3 separate regions of the Homo sapiens genome follow, and regions 1 and 3 are each linked to region 2. The links are contacts of gene promoters, found by promoter capture Hi-C in blood cells and fetal thymus (Javierre and others, 2016). All regions are on one chromosome and are shown on one strand. The core of a region is centred on a gene start or on the middle of the fragment in contact, and the rest is flanking DNA. Distances in the headings are between cores, read along the strand shown. Region 1 has its middle 130 kb from the start of ADAMTS1. Region 2 holds the start of MRPL39 (mitochondrial ribosomal protein L39). Region 3 has its middle 110 kb from the start of CYYR1.

Region 1 (3,261 bases), core at 256-2,755, 1.1 Mb after region 2:
CCTGAGACTGGGTAATTTATAAAAGAGGTTTAATTGGCTCATGGTTTTGTAGGCAGTACAGGAAGTATGGTGCTGGCATCTGCTTGGCTTCTGTGGAGGCCTCAGGAAACTTACAGTCGTGGCAGAAGGCAAAGCAGGAGCAGGCACATGGCCAGAACAGGAGAGAGAGAGAGTCGGGGGTGAGGTGCCACATACCTTTAAACAACTAGATTTCACAAGAACTCACTCAGTATCTCGACAAGAGCACCAAGAGGCTGGTGCTAAGCCATTCATGAGAAATCCACATCCATGATCCAAACACCTCCCACGAGGCCCCACCTGCAACACTGGGGATTACAATTCAACATGAGATTTGAGAGGGAACAAATATCCAAATTATATCACCATTGCATTTTATTGTTTTCTACCTTCAGTAAAATAGCTTCTGACAGCAAAATGAGTCACACTAGACCTCCTGAATTTAAGGAGAAAGGTGTGTGGTCTATTAACATTTGTGTATTTTGTTGTCCTTTCCTTGAAAGTAGAAGATTCAGAAGGAAGTCCCAGGCCTCCTAGTCCCTTCCCCCTGTCTTTGCAAAGAGGATGAAGACGGTAATGCCCCATCTCAGGGAACATGTTCCTAACAGCCAGTTTAAAACCTTTAACACAGAAAGAGAAAGAAATAGTTTTGCTGAATTCATTTACTAGTAATATTTTAAAAGCAGTGTTTAGGCCGGGCATGGTGGCTCATGCCTGTAATCCCAGCACTTTGGGAGGCTGAGGTGGGCAGATCACAAGGTCAGGAGTTCGAGACCAGCCTGACCAACATGGTGAAACCCCGTCTCTACTAAAAATACAAAAAAAAAAAAAAAGAAAAAAAGAAAAAATTAGCCAGGTGTGGTGGCACGCGCCTGTAATCCCAGCTACTCAGGAGGCTGAGGCAGGAGAATCGCTTGAACCCAGGAGGCATAGGTTGCAGTGAGCCGAGATCGCGCTGCTGTACTCCAGCCTGGGCGACAGGGAGAGACTCTGTTTCAAAAAAAAAAAAAAAAAAAAGGTAGTGTTTAAGGTATGTCACATATGTAGAACATCAGAATGAGAAAATGATGACAGTGGGCAGGCTGGCGGGCGACTGCAGATGAAATGTGGTGATTATGAAAAGTGTAGCATCTCTAGAGCCTTAGGCACATGCCTGGTTATGTGTTAAGAGCTATTCAAGAATAAGCTGTTCTAATAATCACAACTCTATAAGATGGGGCTACTAGTGTCCCCATAAAATATAAGGAAACTGAGACATGGGGTCATTGTCACACCTCCCTAATGTCATATGGCTGGAAAGTGGCAAAGTCAGAATTTGAACCCAGGGTCCTTCTGCCTCCAGCATTCATGTTCTTCATCTCAACACTCTCCCAGATTTTGTGGCAACAGTTGAAAATCAATATTGCCCTAAACCACTGTAATTTCAACAAAGATCTATGAACACCTATCATGTGTCAGGCCCGTGATGAACTCTGAGGGCACTGAGATGGATGACCTGGTCCCAGCTGTCCAGCCTCTGGTGAGTCTTTTTCAGCCTGTGAACACAGCTGTGGGAAACCTCCAATACCACACACAGCTTTTGCCCACCGGGCAGGCCCAACAAATGGCGTCTAGACACCACATACCATAGAGCCGCTGCCTTGCCAGCCATGAGGTCACACAACGCACTAGTCCACAGCACGCAAGCTGCCTTGGCGGCGTCTCAGGCCTGCTAATTGGGACAGGTGCAGAGTGATGACAGCGGGCCACCCACAGAGCTCTGGCACACTGGCAAAGACATGAGGAGCGGGAGGACAGGAAGAAGAGAAAGCCTGAACTGCAGCCTGGGCAGTGGTGGCTGGCAGATAAAAACATCCTTTATGCACCAAGAACTTGGCTATTTTTGGAATGGGCATTCCCTAATCTCTAAAGCAAATGGTAAAGCCTCAGGAAATGAGAGCCTATGAAAATATATGCCTACATGCAACCACCAGCCTTCCAAACTGGAAAGATAATTTGCACATATACACACATACACGCACGCACAGACACACATACATACATGCACAAACACTCCGATAATTCTAGTAGAAGCTGTGGATCTTTGTAGGATGTAAAGGGAAATGCTACTTCAGGGACAACCATTTTAACAGGTTCATTTCAAATGGGTAGGTAAGAATTAGAAGTAAAAATAAAAGAAAGACCATCTCAGTTACAGGTTAACAGTTGGTTAGGAGACATCATGAAAATGCTAAAGGAAAAGGAGCAGATTTAGAAGAAGCATGTAAAGAAATAAAGTTGACCTTTCTAGATTCTGAAGTTATCGGCAGAATTGATCTAATGTAAGTATTGGCAGGAATATTGTAGGAAGACACCAAGAGGAATGAGATAAGGTCACTTGATTGCAGGAATTTATAGTATAACAGGGCAAATCATTAAGAAATGTCTAAAGTTTTGGTGGAAAGACGCTCATTTTTATGTGAACTAATGGATGCTAATTTTCTTTCAAATGTATAACTGATATTGAATTTAAATGCTCAGCTACATGTAACATGCATTTCTGTTACAGTCTGTTAGGATCTCAGTGGGACTTTAAGAAATAATAAGACATAGAAACATGACTCGTAATGAGAAGCTAAACACAAAGATAGCGTATATGATTTATATTATGCAACTTTTTTTTAAAGTTAGGAGGCAATCACAATTGCTTACTTAATCTAGGTACTTGCAATTAAGCCATGAGCTGAGTATCAGATACCTATTCATTTTCTCCACATCAAAAGTTATCTGTAGGCCAGGCATGGTGTTTCACGCCTGTAATTCCAGCACTTTGGGAGGCTGAGGTGGGTGGATCACCTGAGGTCAGGAGTTCGAGACCAGCCTGACCAACATGGTGAAACCCTGTCTCTACTAAAAGTACAAAAATTAGCCAGGCATGGTGGTGTGTGGCTGTAATCCCAGCTACTCGGCAGGCTGAGGCAGGAGAATTGCTTAAATCTGGGAGGCAGAGGTTGCAGTGAGCCAAGATCACGGCACTGCACTCCAGCCTGGGCAACAGAGCCAGACTCCATCTCAAAAAAAAAAAGAAAAGTCATCTGTAAATCAGATATTCTTAGAACATTTTAATAAGTCACCTCCTTTATTTCAAAAGCTTATGCTTTGCAACGTATTTATCAAAAAATACCTGACAACTGCACTTCCGTTTGGATGTTGCAAGAATAAAATTAAGATAATATTCATGAAGTCTTCTGAGGCCCTTATTAT
Region 2 (3,189 bases), core at 270-2,769:
TACCATAAACAAAGCCAGATTCAAACAAGCGCCAGGCAGGACAATCTGTGCACTACAGTGCCAACCTTGCAATACTCAGAGTACCCTCCAGAACTACAGGGACAGTGAATAGACAATAAGGTGCCAGATAAAGAACCTCTGGGAAGTCCAGGGACTTCTGCGCCCACCACATCTGGCTAATTTATTTCTATTTTTATTTTTTGAGAGACAGGGTGGCTATGGTGCCCAGGCTGGTCTTGAACTTCTGGCCTCAAGCTATCCTCCTGCTTCAGCCTCCCAAGTAGCTGGGATTTGCTTGCTCTTTTTAGCTAGGTCTGTGATGTGGTGGGAGCAGTCACCATGCAGGTCTCAAGAAAGGATTTTGGTATAAAGGGATTGCCATGGCCACAGATGACCAGAAGTAATTACAGCATCCTGTCTCCTGCACCAGTGCTTCCACACAGCTTAAGTAAAAGGGTCAAAACTGTAACCTGATTCTGCTACTTACGCATGGCACAACTGTAGGGAGTTGAAATGTTTTTATTCATCACGAAGACAGTACCGGGGTCAGTTTTCCCAACATGCTTAACTTCTATCTTCTCAGTTCGGGGAGTTAATGATAACTGCCTGGCTTTCTCTTTATTAAAGAGATCATTCCGCATTTCTGTCAATTCTGTCGGTGACAGCTGAGAAGCTGACGATGTTGCTATAAATCCTGTGGAGAAGTTACAATAAATATGAAGACTGAAAAAATGATTAACGTACTGCCAAAAGTGCGCTCAGAGGTAAAATTAAACCAATTTGTAATATTAACAAACACCAGCGGAAGAAACAGAGCTGGCCCAGATACGTGCCTCTACTTTTAAATTTGGCTCTTTCACATCAGATCGCTATTTCCCACCAATTTCCTGTGTCGTGTTTCCAATCAGTGCTTTACAATAAGGGGCAAAAAGTAACCAGGAAACGGAGTCAAAACTGGACTAGAGTCATTGGGAAGGTGAACAAAGTGGTCGGTTTGACAGGGTCTGAAGAAAAACAAGAAAATTTCAGGAAACCAAAGGTCCCACACCGAAACTATCAATATCCAGAATGAGAAATGCTGAGTTTATATCCCAAAGGCCAAATCAGGGAACCTGCCAAGGCAAGTACGAGTATTCCTTGGGAAGACATGGACAGATGTGCACGGAACGTGCGCTGCTTCCCAGAGGCGGGCCCAAGCTCCTCCCGCGGCCTGGCTCCGACCCCTGGCCCCGACCCCTGCCCTTGCCCCTGCCCTCCGCCAGACCCTCGTTCCCATAAATTAGTCCTCCCAAGCTGTGCAAGAGCGACCGCCGCGGAGGGACTAAGAAACCCTCCTCCTTCCTCTGCCCCGCGGGACCTCCCCGGCCCCGCCTCAGACCCAATCTAGACAGACACCACTATCTAGGCCTCGCTCCCTGTCCCTACGGCCTCTGAAACTCACTCCATTTGATCCCGCCACCGGGTGCGACCAGCCAGAGCCGCAGCGCCCGGGAACCCATGGCCAGCGCCTCCATAGCAGCGGTGAGAACCGTCGCGCGCAAGTCCTTCTCCGCCCTCCTCCCCCGGAAACCGAACGCGCACTCGGAGTTCCGCAGGACAGGTCTGTTCCGGACCCAGCACTCAGACTGCTCGCCTCCACCGGGGGGCGTCAGGCCTCGCTGGGGATTCAGTGGCTGAGACCCCGAGACTCGGAGCCGGGGCGCGTTACCTGTGCTCGATACCTGGGCGCGGTCACCTACCCAGAGGTGCAGGGCCCCCAGGGCGGTCGGCCTGCCGCCCACCACGTAGGCTCTGCAGGGAAACAGAGTTCCACAGGCGTCGTTGCCCTCCGCCTTCAGCCCTCCGCGGGTTCGATCCCGGCCACCCAGGTGAAGCGCTTGCTTCCCTAAAAGAATATATGGTTTTCTTGGCGGGGGCGGGGGTGGGGGGGAATGGGGAAGGCGTCTTCTATTTTGTCAGCGATGACATCCTCTAGCGCGTGGCTTAACTTTCAATTGTGCCGGGTAGGTTCTTAGTTCGGCTGGAGTGGGTCTGCACCCCGGTTCTCCCCTTAGCTGTGGTAATAGAGGCCTCGGAACACGTCCCCTTGACTTTGGAGAGGACGTTGTAATTCCTAAGAGCTCTTTACAAATTTTCTAGTTTAGTTTATATAGTATAGGATGTATAGGAGAAGGCATCCCGGGGCAGAATTTTTGTCTCTAGTTCACTGATGTATCCCAAGCGCCCAGAACAGAGCACAGCGCAGTCAGCGCTCAACAGATGTTTCTTGAATGAATGAATGAATGAATGCCCTTGCAGGCAAACTTCAGCTCATTGTCTAATTTTTCTGTCCTACCAGGACGTGAGTGTTATTTGAAGTAAGCACTCTGTAGGTACAGGATGGAAATATTTTCATTTACAGTAGTTTAATTCTGTGGCTTTACTTAAGGGTGTCGAATTCAGCCTTTCCCCCACTCTGTCCTTTGCCTTGCAATTGGAATGCGCCGCCACCAGGTGGAAGTGCCGCCTAAGGTACAAATATGACCCTGCGCCACGATAGATCGACCGTCTCCTTGGCCCAAATGTTACACTCACAACCACTGCGCCAGGAAAGTGTAAGTATCTTCACTTTTTAAAATGGGAAATGTAAGTGACGGAGCTTGGATTTACATCCAGTCTACATTTTACCAGGCTACATTTCATTTAAGATCCTAATTCAAACCACGAAATGTACATATATACATATAGTGTTGGAGGGCGGGTGTATCTTTTGCTTCCTCAAATTTGCATACAGTTCCCATGAAAGCTGTCTGTTTCATCGGCCTTTTAGAGCCTGTACCCATTTAACCTTACCTAGAAACACTCTAGTGCCCTTAGAACATCTTAGAGCCACATTTAAGCAAAGCCTCTGAACATAAACTTAAGCAAGTTTGATCACAAACCCATTGGAGGCAGGTAATTGGAGTTCACCGGTATGAGAAATTAACCTAGTTGAAAGGTTGTCACTAGTGATAATGGCCAAAAAATACTATGTGCCAATCATAGGGCTTGGTTTATTAATTTTCACAACCTACCTGAGCAATTGGCATAATAATCTTCATATTCCAGGAAAAGAAATTCAGGTTTTAAGAGCTTGAGAGACATACCCGAGGTAAATCTTTGGCCAAGAATTCCCCCCAAATATTTTCTTACTCTGAATCTTCTTTATCT
Region 3 (3,524 bases), core at 1,020-3,519, 1.1 Mb after region 2:
CTGCATATCTTTAGGACATCTTTTCTTATATGCTACCCAGAATGTGGCTGGACTTCACTTTAAAGTTGTCTTGAATTAAGCAAAATTAGGAAAGTGAATACCATATATGGGAATCAATTATCAAATATTATGTTATCTACTCTATTTGATAAATTACATCACTGTCCCTTCAATTACAATAGATACCTGACAAATAAGCGTCACCATGCTTATACCAAAATGTGAATTTTTTAAAAAAGATTAATGCTAGCTTCCATGAATTCATTATTATTTAAAACACTCTTTATTAAAGTATAATCTTATACTATGTACATCGGAATTACCTGGATGCTTTAAAAATGTTTCCCGGTCACCAGTTCTGGAATTCTATTAAGTAGACAAAAGGGGTGTGTAGATATTACTGCATTATTTTCCGTGAAGCGTGAAACTCATAAGTAGCCATAAAAAGAAATAAACATTCATGGAATATATGACCATCGCTGAGAACCAAAACTTGTTAATTTATTAATTTGTAATTTATGTGTGTATTACAAAGGACACCGTGATAGAATATGGTTTGCAAAATATATAGTACATATTAAATTTTTAATAGTTACCTAAGCAATTTCTCCAACTGAAGTATTTTGAGAAAACAAATAGTTTAGTATCAAGTTTAAAATAATTAGTTCTTCATTTGAAGTAAATTTTGTAATGATAGCTTACTATCGGCTCCTGAATACACTTTAGACAATAATTCTGCTAATATAATATTAATTATTTTTCTAGCAGGATATGTTCTTCCAACTCCATGTTGTTTTTGTCATCCAGAGTCTTGGAATTCTACTCTTACAGAAAATAGATAACCATTTTATTTATCTTCTTGGTGTTGAATCTTCCAATGCTTTCATCACTTAAATCAAACAGTCATAACGTCTTTGATTTTATTGTTTTTAGCAGCTGTAATTGTATTTTACTCTCAGAAACATGCTCCAAAGCATTGCTTGGTCATTTTAATAAGAAGTTAAAGTGCTACTAATGTAGATGTCTGTGACTTCAAAACAAATGGCAGAAAATAAAATAACTTTAATTTTTATTACTTCAAGTTGTATTTTTTTTTTTTTGCTTTGTTTTCAGTCCTCACAATAAAAACAAAAAGTGGGAGGAAGAGATCTTAGGAAGAGAGGAAGATAATTTTTTTTTTTTTTTTTTTTGAGATGGAGTCTCGCTCTGTCACCCAGGCTGGAGTGCAGTGGCGCGATCTCGGCTCACTGCAAGCTCGGCCTCCTGGGTTCACGCCATTCTCCTGCCTCAGCCTCCCGAGTAGCTGGGACTACAGGCGCCCGCCACCACGCCCGGCTATTTTTTTGTATTTTTAGTAGAGACGCGGTTTCACCGTGTTAGCCAGGATGGTCTCGATCTCCTGACCTCGTGATCCGCCGAACTCGGCCTCCCAAAGTGCTGAGATTAAAGGCGAGTGGAAGATAATTTTTTAAAAAGTTTATTCGGAGTACATGTTCTATGTTTCCTGCAGGCCCTGTGACTCATCCTTTATAGCATCTAGTCAAGCTGATCAGCTTCTAAGAACAGATGGAAATGAAGCCCTTCCTCACTATAATGCAGCCATTAGATGATTATCCAGTCCATTCAGTTCTAAGTGCAAATTCACTATCATTTTATTTCTAATCTATCTACCTTTAACTGATGTGGCGAGCAATTTGACTTTACTTGGCTTACTATTGTGTTTCTGTTAGAAAGTAATGTGATGCACATACCTAATATGAAACTTTTACAACAGAGAAAGAGATTTTAATTTAAAATAGCTTTCTTACTAGAGCTTGGACCAAGTTCATTTTCAGAAGTTATTAACAAGATGATACAGGTATCAACATAAAAGTGCAAGGGTAGTTGGTCATTTGATTTTGCATTCAGATCATATATTTTATTTTCATTGTAAAATATTTGAACTACTCAGGATCCAGTTTATGAGGGCTCTTTTGTGTGACTGTTACAAGTAGAAACCCATAATAATATAACCAAGGATGTGAAATTGCTTTATGCTAATATTTTAACCTGTGGGAGTGTACTTTCTCCTACTCTTTTTTTGAAATGTACAGCCTCATAGAGATGCATAATTTTTACCTACTCATTCTTAGTAGCAGAAAATGAGATTATCAGTATAGTAAGAAGCTTTTAGTAAATTAAGGAATTAAAAGGATAGTAGTCTCTTTATCAAATACCAGGATTATGACTACTCCTACCTCCTCTTCCAATTTTTTTTTCCGTTGAGGTTTTATAAGTGATTTGCTTCACAGTACAGATGTTTTTATAGATCAGCACCTGCAAATTTATGCTCATTTGAGTCTATATTTATGTGACAGCTGTCAGTCTGAAATCAAAGCTTTGTGAATCATACATTGAGATAAGCTCAATTAACTACATCAAGAAAGTTTGATAGCAAAAGTGGTCCAGAAACATTTCATCATGAAGATTGCAGAAGTCATTGAGTCCCTAGACACAATCCTTGCATCTAAAGTAACAGTTATCAGTTTTAACACAAAAAGTAATAGATGTAGAAGTTACTTGAAATAAAAGGCTAAAATACAACCTTTGTCCTAAATGCTTTTGTAAACTGATCAAGGACTCAAAGCCCACATGCCACATCCATTTGTCACACAGTTATTGAAAAGGAGTCAGTGTTGACTGGTGCACTTGGAGAAGTCTTTTTGCAAGAGTAGAGTGAATAGTGAGTACTGACTGATCAAGAGGAGGCAAATACATGGAGGAAAAAGAGAAAGATCATTTTAGACTGTAAATTCCCTGAAGGTAGAAAATATATCTCTTCATATTATCTGTCAAGCATCTACCACACAGGTTGGCTGAATTATTTTGAAGAAAGTTTGGGATAGCGCAGGAAGAAAAATTATGAAGTGTGCAGGAAGTGGCAAAAATTGACCTATGTTGAGTGGAGGGTATATTCTGGAATGATTAATGTGGATGCAGAGGGAAGATCATGACATTGGCTGTATTATAAAAGCTGAAACAGCAGTAAAGAGTAATTATAAGAGATGATGGGTGAAGTAGTGATTACTGGGTGTCTTTTCAGTGAAATGATGAGTTTATCTGGTTGTATAGAAAGGCGCACCTTAGATTGTTTTTCTGTTGACTGAGCTATATTGCAGCTGAGTAGAGGTAGAAGTTAGGTTGTAGAAAATTTGTGACTATGCAAATAAATTTTGATTGTTTGAGAAAAAATTGGTTCCTTCTCTGTAGAAAAGATGAGCCCAAAGTTTACATTTTATTGTATTATATGACATTAACCAGTTTTGCATTTACTAGCAACTGCAGTTCAGCATTCCTGATTTTATATACACAGCACACACACATATACCCATACATATACATTTATATGTATATATTCTGTTCTCTCTTGAACTGCTTTTAACATCTTACTGATTGTCTCAGCCATTAATTCCCTCACTTTAATCCTTGTTCATTTCATATTTGAACAAGAATCATAATTTTGCCTTTTTGAAAATTTAACATTA

Evidence for each region. The method cuts DNA at HindIII sites, captures the fragments that hold promoters and counts their contacts. A CHiCAGO score of 5 or more calls a contact.
Region 1: a contact is called between a fragment that was not itself captured here and the fragment with the promoter of MRPL39 in region 2, in 4 of 17 cell types (fetal thymus, total CD4 T cells, non-activated CD4 T cells and 1 more). The highest score is 8.3, in fetal thymus.
Region 3: a contact is called between a fragment that was not itself captured here and the fragment with the promoter of MRPL39 in region 2, in 1 of 17 cell types (fetal thymus). The highest score is 5.0, in fetal thymus.

The regions. Positions count from the first base shown.
Region 1 is chr21:26,718,249-26,721,509 of GRCh38, forward strand. No RefSeq gene overlaps it. Among named protein-coding and RNA genes, the nearest start is that of ADAMTS1, 130 kb to the right of the region's middle. The HindIII fragment of the contact is 3,282 bases long and covers 1-3,146 here.
Region 2 is chr21:25,605,962-25,609,150 of GRCh38, forward strand. It overlaps MRPL39 (mitochondrial ribosomal protein L39), which reads right to left and starts at 1,520. Exons shown (of 10, transcript NM_017446.4): 1 at 1,442-1,520; 2 at 488-694. The coding sequence starts at 1,514. RefSeq lists an enhancer at 1,465-1,584 and a silencer at 2,565-2,624. The HindIII fragment of the contact is 17,691 bases long and covers 1-3,189 here.
Region 3 is chr21:26,680,297-26,683,820 of GRCh38, forward strand. No RefSeq gene overlaps it. Among named protein-coding and RNA genes, the nearest start is that of CYYR1, 110 kb to the left of the region's middle. The HindIII fragment of the contact is 211 bases long and covers 2,165-2,375 here.